Regions from separate parts of the Homo sapiens genome. Here all the other regions are linked to region 1. Evidence: promoter capture Hi-C in 16 types of primary human blood cells and fetal thymus (Javierre and others, 2016). All regions are on one chromosome and are shown on one strand. The core of a region is centred on a gene start or on the middle of the fragment in contact, and the rest is flanking DNA. Distances in the headings are between cores, read along the strand shown. Region 1 holds the start of SV2C (synaptic vesicle glycoprotein 2C). Region 2 overlaps SV2C (synaptic vesicle glycoprotein 2C). Region 3 overlaps SV2C (synaptic vesicle glycoprotein 2C).

What was found. The method cuts DNA at HindIII sites, captures the fragments that hold promoters and counts their contacts. A CHiCAGO score of 5 or more calls a contact.
Region 2: a fragment that was not itself captured here is called in contact with the fragment with the promoter of SV2C in region 1 in 7 of 17 cell types (M0 macrophages, M2 macrophages, M1 macrophages and 4 more); the score reaches 20.1 in M0 macrophages.
Region 3: a contact is called between a fragment that was not itself captured here and the fragment with the promoter of SV2C in region 1, in 2 of 17 cell types (M1 macrophages and M0 macrophages). The highest score is 5.3, in M1 macrophages.

The regions. Positions count from the first base shown.
Region 1 is chr5:76,081,988-76,084,755 of GRCh38, forward strand. SV2C (synaptic vesicle glycoprotein 2C) reads left to right here and starts at 1,396. Exons shown (of 13, transcript NM_014979.4): 1 at 1,396-1,525. SV2C-AS1 (SV2C antisense RNA 1) reads right to left here and starts at 1,430. Exons shown (of 2, transcript NR_183290.1): 1 at 932-1,430; 2 at 1-409. RefSeq lists an enhancer at 207-760. The HindIII fragment of the contact is 14,928 bases long and covers 1-2,768 here.
Region 2 is chr5:76,254,217-76,256,984 of GRCh38, forward strand. The region is part of intron 4 of SV2C (synaptic vesicle glycoprotein 2C); the gene reads left to right. Among named protein-coding and RNA genes, the nearest start is that of SV2C-AS2, 56 kb to the right of the region's middle. The HindIII fragment of the contact is 1,926 bases long and covers 435-2,360 here.
Region 3 is chr5:76,233,663-76,236,430 of GRCh38, forward strand. All of the region lies in intron 4 of SV2C (synaptic vesicle glycoprotein 2C), which reads left to right. Among named protein-coding and RNA genes, the nearest start is that of SV2C-AS2, 77 kb to the right of the region's middle. The HindIII fragment of the contact is 635 bases long and covers 1,106-1,740 here.

The sequences.
Region 1 (2,768 bases), core at 146-2,645:
CATCCATTCAATCACCCAGGCATATTTACACGGATGGAACACATTCGCGGAGAGATGTGTGTGTTTGAGTTCCAATCACTGCAGCCCGTATTGGCGCGGCGCTTTGTCTCGCTTTGGGTCACCACCACAGGAGCAACGATTTCGGGGACGGCACACGCCTGTGTGACCGCTTCCCACTCCACTTGGGTTCCGTGAGCGCGCGGAGCCGGAGGAGTCAGGGACGTGAGGATGCCCTACTTCCCGCAGCATCCGGATGGCAGGGTCTGCGTCGGAAGGCCCGGGAGGGCGACGCCCTCCACTGCTGCCGCGGGGTGGGTGCGCCAGGCCTGGGTGTGGCCTCACGGGAGCGAGTTTCTCTCCAGCCGCCTGGCCCACCGCTTTGGAACAGTGAAGCTCGAGTTGGGGTCTCCTGCACGCCAAGGGGAGAAATGTTTGTTTCTGACAACACAAGCAAAATTCTCTCTCCTGCACGCCAAGGGGAGAAATGTTTGTTTCTAACAACACAAGCAAAATTCTCTCTCTCTCTCCCTCTCTCTCTCTCTTCTCTCCTCTCTCTTTCTCCCTCCTCCTCCTTTCTTTCTTTCTCTTTTTCTTTCTTTCTTTCTTTCTTCCTCCTCCTCCTCTCTCTCTCTCTATCTCTCTCTCCACCCCCCCCCCCTCATATTTGGTTGTTTCCCCTCTAAGGGGCCACTTTCAATATCTGCCTGTGAGCCCAGCTGTCTGGCCCTATGTAGCATTGGGGAGACAGTAGACTTAACCCAGCGAAGTTTTCTTCTGTTTGCTCTTGCTGTGCCCAAGTTTCCTCTGGACTTGTCTTCCAGCGTCGGGGTGGGGGCTGGGGGAAGTAGGCAACCTAGCTCTGCCTGGTTGCTCCCTGGAAGCCAAGTCGAAGTGAACAAGTCAGTCCCAGGCCCGGAAATAGAATACAAACCCTCTTTTTGTCCGGTGCTAACAGAGTCCAGCAGTCAGAACTCCCTCGCGTCTCACGCTGGACCTGACCCGGGGCGCCGCCAAGTGCGCAACGCACAGTCACAGTTGGTGACTAATTAAGGACTGCCGCCCCTCTCCTTCACCTGCTACAAACTCAGAGCCCTGACTTCTCCAGAAGTACCTACCACTTGGAGGTGGCTCTCCTTCCCCGCCCCCTGCCCCAGTCCCACACCGCAGCAGCGCCTCAGCACCGCGACTTGCCGGAGCACCGCGAGTGGCGCGCGGGTCCCGCCTCCCCCGCGCGCCGTGACTCCCTGCGCACCGCTGGTACTCTCGCCACGCCGCCGCCCGGCACTGCAGCACCAGGGGGAGGAGGCAGGCGGAGGAGAGGAGGAGGACCGCAGCGTGCAAGCCGGGAGCCACTTTCCCGCCCCTCCTCTCGCCGCTGACACGCTCAGAGGAGTCACCACTCCGCGCGCTGCAGGCGAGAGTGGCAGACGGAGGCAGCCCGGGGAAGCGAGCCGGAGCGGCGCCCGCACTGAGGCGGCTGCAGTGCTGACACCACTCAGGGCAAGGGTGTCCGACGGCTGGAGCGGTGAGTGGGGGAGGTGAAGCGGGCATCCGCGGGGAGACTTTCCCCCGCTGCTGGATTTCTCTTCCCGACTGGTGGCCGGGCGCTGCAGCCTGGGGAAGTTTTTGCAGCCTTTCGGAAGCGCAACTTTGCCCCGCCTGCCCCCGGGGAAGCGGCTGCAGGTGCCCGCTGCTTTGTAGGCGCCTTTGTTGGAGAGGGACCAGGAAAGTAGGGGTAAAATAGATGCAGTGACCCCAGGGTTCGCTAGGGTAGGTCTGGGGACTGGGTCGCACTTTATCTGGGATTCCCAGAGGAGGTGGGTGGGCAGCAGCGGGGATGCAGGGGCCGCATCTGCAGCGACCGCCACGCTCTTTTTTGCTTGTGTGGTTTGACCGGCAGGGATAGGCAGATTCAAATCTAGCAGCCTAGAGCCCCGGGCTGGGTACCTGGACCTATACCTTCATAGCTGCCTTAGGCTCAACTTTTCGGCGGGGATCCCTCTGCAGACGTGCAGGTGGCGGGAGAGCAGAGGTAGCCGCAGTAAGTGCTGAGAGAGCCTGAAAGAAACACCATGAATTTTCAAACTCTCCCACATACATTCCCGAAGCGCCTGTCTGGCGTCTAAGAGAGAGCAAGAGAGGGCTGGAGAGCAGGGGAGCCCGCGGGGCTGAGGCTCTTTGTCAGCGCCTGCACTTCCTACGTTACAACGCCTTCATTCAGCAAAAACCTTTTGGGCGCCTGCTGTGCGCCAGGCCAGGCGAAGCAGACCCGAGGCTGTGAAGCTCAGAGGGGAGAGGGACCAATCGCAGTAAATAAGCTACCGAGGTAATCTTAGATGGCGATGAGGGCAGCAAAAGCCATCAGCCGACCCTCTGACCCTTTCTCTTAGTGGGCTTTTCCCCTTCCGCCTGGGTTCTAGAACTGGGAAGACTTTTCTCCAGAGCGTCGCGGGGAGCGCCCCGGGCTGGGCCCACGGGGACTGCGGAATACGGGGATGAACTTGGCTTGGGGCAGCCAGCACCCCACGGCAGATGAACAATCGGGAGCAGATCTGTGGGCGTGCGGGGACCTTAGGCGGCGCGCGGGGGCGGGGGGAGGGGCTGAGCCACGGGGGCTAGAGGTGCCGCCTGGACGGCCTGAGCTGGGGGCGCTCGCGTCACCTTCTACGTGTGCGAGTGATGCAAATGCAGACCCGCGAGGGGCGGGCGGGGGTGGCGGGCGGGGGCAGGCGACGGAGTCTCCGTCTGGGAGCGCGCGTGTGTGCGTC
Region 2 (2,768 bases), core at 148-2,647, 170 kb after region 1:
TGTGTGTATATATATGTGTGTGTGTATATATATATATATATAGAGAGAGAGAGAGAGATATTAAAAATTTAAAAATAAATGTAATGCATCTACACATCCAGCCAGCCAATGTGGCATAATAACAGCATTATTTGCATCCCTACTTTTCCATCTATTCCTTGAGAGTGTCGGTGGAAGTGGTTCTGAGAGCCCCAGCTGGAGTGAGACAGAAGGCAAACATTACTCAAACCTCCATGTTTAGCTTTACAATGGTGTCACTCACTTGATCTCACTCTTTTAGCCCTTATGAACTGCCTATTTTCCATGGAAATTTCCAGGCATGGAAGGTAACATCTGACATAGATATGCCCAAACATTCAATGTGAAATAAATACACAGACTGCCTCTGATGTGTTCTGAACCATAATTCAGATTTCAAAAATCTTAATGAATGAAGCTTCTACTTTCCCCAAGACTGTCACTAAATCTTCTCATGGCTTAATTAAATACTAATAATTGTACTAAATCCAAAATGTTAATTATGTTTATCTCTGAGTGATGAAACTTGGAGTTATTTACTTCTTTTATTTTCTGTATTGCTTGCCACATAGACATGTATTATTATTGTAACCAAGAAACAATCACATTGCTATCTGAGGGTAGAAGAAAATGATCAAAAGCATCTGAGACAGGCATATTGGCTGGGGTCCACCCCTTTTCCTGGTACAAATGAGACTCTAAGTGTTGATTTATATTTATTTTTTATAAATCCTCTCTCCACCCCACCCCCAAATGGATTTTACTTTGTCTACATTTTTTAATACTCACTGTCAGGAAATACTCTGTTAACCTAAGATTTTGAGCTTTTCCCTATTATTCTGTCCTATGGAAAGAAGAACAGTTATTCATATAATATTAATGATCACTCTTAATATCATTAAAAAGCTCTGTGGATCTCTCCAGTAATTTCTAATACATCAAGGTAGCCAAAGATTGTTTTGCAGATAAATTTATTTTCCTGCCAGGGATTTTTAAAACCATAAAGCATTATCAAAATCATAAAGTATATGTTTCTAGCTCACTCTTTTGAATCTGTCTGTTTTCCCAGACTGGAATTCACAAACGCATTCTGGTTATAATGATAGCACGTGGTTTGGAGACAGGATCAGCCGGTCTGGAGACCATCTTCCCATGTCACCCAAGCCTCCCATGCAGGGACCCTGTCTTCCTCCACCCCAGAATGTCCATGGTTGTCCCTTTCCTTTGTCCCTGGTTCTAGAGTCCTTTTCTCACTAGTCCTTCAGGAATGTATCACATTTCCTTCTTAACTGTGGCCCTAGAGTGGTCCTTTGGCCCCACTGTCCTAGCTTGGATCTCTGTCTGTCTAGCCAGGCATCCCTTTGCTCTATTAGATTTTCCCTACCAAATCCCAGTCCGTGGGTTGCCATCAAGTAACCCTTACATGTCAGCACCGTGCCTGTGAAAGCCAAGCCCCTCACCTGGTGAAATCGTTATCAGAGTGGTCACGCCTGGCCACCTTATGCGCCCCCCTCACCCCTCAGGTTCTGCTGAGCCACTGGGCCACTGGAGGAGGGACTGCCTCACCTGAGACTCTCATCTCCGCAGCCACCTCCCACCAAATGCCCAGTTCTTCCTGCCTCTTCCTTCAACTTGGCTCCCATCTCAGCCCTTCTGGGGGAAGAGGGCTCAGATTCTTACAATCTCCATAGAAAGGAAATACAGTGTCAGGCCAGTTTGCCTGATGCCTTTTTAAAAATCAATAAAGGGGACAGAATGCAAAATATGTGCTAGGTTGTTTTTATGAAATGCAAGGCAAAAAATGCCCCATTAAACATTTCTTCTCTGCAGCCCTTGCTCTCAAGGGCACATGCTTGACCCTTGGGTTCTTAAGACTTTCACCAAGGCCACTTTGTGCTTTGCCTGCTCTGCCTGAGTCTCTGGCCCTCAGAGCTAGAGGGTGGGGCTGGCCTTCCAGTCTGTATCTGTCCCCTGGGGGAGTACCTTTCCAGGCTGAATTTAAGAATGCAGCAATTGACTTAGAATGCAGACTCATTGAGTGAATGCGAGCCCTGGAGGAAAGAAAAATCACTGTCACTTCTGTGGCCCCCAGGTTTGACACTTTCAGGGCAACCCCAGAGTCTGAATTGCTTGGAACATCCACTCACGCATGCAAGTGAAAGTCATCAGGGAAGAGGCTTTTAATAGCGCAGCGTCTGTGTGTCTCTTGTGAACCCAGGGTGCCCTCAAGTGTTGGCTAGGGTTAATCACAAGCCGCTGTTTCTGAGAACACCCTAGAATGAAGCAACCCTTAAACGTTTTAGCTTTGTGACTTGTGTCCATCACTCTTAATTTTCTGCAGAAGCTTTTTCCTGCCTTTGTTACTTCTGTAAATTCAGTCTATCAGAGGGCTTATGTGGTACTTTTAAAAACTCACTTTGATTTGCCTTTGTGCAAATTGAGCTCTGAAAGAGAGCAGTTTCCAGGGAAATTCATCTCCCAGCAAGAATCCTGCCTGCTACCAAATCATCTTTTAATCTGCCCCCCGCTTTAAAATGTCATTATATTTTCCTTATACAGACCTTCATAAAACTTACAAACACTGTCTAGTTTACATCTTCATTTTGCTCTCACAAGGCCAAAAAACTTGTTAAACAGACTTAATGAACGAGTTCCTCTTGATCGGGGTTGTAAGTTTCTAAAATTGCATTTGAACTTCTACCTGCCTCTAGCTGAATGAAAATTGCCTCCAGACATCTGAAGTCTTTTTC
Region 3 (2,768 bases), core at 173-2,672, 150 kb after region 1:
TTGTCAAAGGCCTCTTCTGCATCTGTTGAGATAATCATGTGGTTTTTGTCTTTGGCTCTGTTTATATGCTGGATTACATTTATTGATTTGCGTATATTGAACCAGCCTTGCATCCCAGGGATGAAGCCCACTTGATCATGGTGGATAAGCTTTTTGATGTGCTGTTGCATTCGTTTTGCCAGTATTTTATTGAGGATTTTTGCATCAATGTTCATCAAGGATATTGGTCTAAAATTCTCTTTTTTGGTTGTGTCTCTGAGCTCATGGCTGATTTTATTTCTTCTAGTCTTGGGAAGTTTTTTATTGAAATATTTTTTATGTCATAACAATGAAATTGCATTAATTCACAACATGGAGGGACAAGCTCTTTTAGGGAGACTTCTATGTATATAATTATTTTAAACAAATGTTATTTGCTTAATATGTCATGGATTTTTATAAGCCATAATGTATTTGAGCATATCAGTTTATAGTATATGATATGGTGTGTTATTCAATAAATATTTAAATGTGAAGGAACTAGTAATTCAGAAACACCTATGACATGTTCCTAGAACTGCCTCACACAGCAATTTAATATTTTCTCTTTTTGCTGCAACAAATTAAGTGTATCAGTTCACACTGAGCAATAGGGTCACTATTATATCAGTCTGTGCATGTTTCTGAAAAAAATTATCACTCAAATTCTAAAGCACGATTTATAAATAACATGTCCATTTTATCAAACTCAGTGTAACATATTCCAGGTGTTCTTTCAATGATCTTATACAAAAGATCTGGCAAGTTTTCTTAGAGGAAAGTTTTCCGGAGTTTTTACTCAGTAAGAATCAAATGCTTTATGTCTTTGGTACTGTGATTCCAGAATTGGAGGAATCCAAAGGGATGAAGTTTTATTCTGATATATTATTCCACTTCATCATAACAACCTGATTTCAGCCTTCTGTTTCTCCTGGTTGCCCACAGAATCACTGCCACCGTCCTTAAAAACAAGCATTCTGGCCCTTTGCAAGAGCATTATAAATCATGGTTTCATTTTAGGGAAAAGGTTATTGATTTGCTCATTTTCCCCTGCCTCCCTCTGGTGCAGACTTCAGTGAAAAACTGAAGCTTCCTTTATGAAGTATATCATAGCCAATCAAAAGTGTGGCCTGTGCTTACTTGATTTATAATGAAAGGTGACACGAGTGAGGGATTTCACACTGCTCATCCTACAGTGACTGTAATCAAGAGATAAAAGCTAGAGCAACTACAAATGCTGGCCAGACTTCATCAGAATTATTTACTGCGTTTGCTAAGACAGGGACATTCGATCAGTTTAGATGGAAGAACTAACACAGTTAAAGGCGATGCATTTGTGTTTCATTTTGCTTTTAAAGCCAGCTAACATTCCACTTTTCCTATCGTAATTAACTTGGCCTTTTAAGATTGTACCCAATTGTGATTTGCTTTAAGTGATTTTTTTTTTCACAAAAGGATCAGAAAAAAGACAAAGGGAGAATTATCCATGGAGAAAAGGGCAAAAAAAAAAAAAAAAGGAAGTAAAGTAGTGATGAGACATTTAACGATATTTTTGAAAGGCCTAAAGTCAAGGAATAAGTGAATATCATTAGTAAAATGCAGAAATGCCATGAAATGTCTTGGCAGCAAGGTAAATGAGGCCCCGTTAGATTTTCTTTCTGGTTATGTTATGGATTTTTCTAAGGCATGATATACATTGGTTGGTAAAGGGAAAGCCAGCAAAGCTTTCTTTATCAGTGGTGAAAGAAAACATGTCTGAAGCTGGGACATTTGCAGTATGATTTTAAGTATATTTATAGAGAGATTGAAATTACAAATAAAAATAATAAAAATCATATCAATGTAAACATTTACATAGGAAGAGTACTGCAGTGTGATTAAATGTTTGTAGTGTGGCCGAAACTCAGAACACAGAATGCTGTCACTGAGGTGTATTGTGAATGCTTATATGGAAAATCCCAGGCTATCGATTTCACATGGCCTTTGCTTAGTGCAATAAAAAAAGGGATTAAGATTTTTTTTCAAGCATAATAAAACATCTGTGGACTCATTTTCAGATCTAGAGAAAAACATCATTATTTTAAGAATCCATATTTTTTTTCCTTTCCATTTAGCTCACACTTACTTAGTACATTTCATTAATTGCGTCTCCTACAGCTGAGCATGACTCTTTTTGCATCTAAATTGATTAAAATAGAGAACAGTTGGTGATATGAGTTGTCTTCCCCCCACCGGTTCTATATGAAATTGAATAATTTATGTATTGTAGAAGACAGAGTGATCTTAATATAGAAATTGTATTTGCAGAGCTCAGTGGAGGTTCCCATGTTTTCTTACAAAGAAACTGATCTTTTGCCTTAGCTGAGCCATTTCTTCTCTAAGATAAAATGAGGTAACTTTTTTGTTGGCACATGCTCCACACACCATGTCAGCAGCATACCCAAAGACTTCTAAGACAACTCTTTAGTTATCAAACAAAACTGGCTCTGTGGCACAATGGATAGCACGTAAAAGTTAGTTCATAGCTTCAGAATACATTTTACCTTTTATAGTCAATATTGAAAATCAAAGTAACATGTCCATAGTCCTAAAAATCAAATACACTAGGCCTGGGCATGGTGGCTCACACCTGTAATCCCAGCACTCTGGGAGGAAGGCAGGTGGATCACTTCAGGAGTTGAAGGCCAGCCTGGTCAGCATGGTGAAACCCCGTCTCTACTAAAAATACAGAATTATCCAGGCATGGTGGC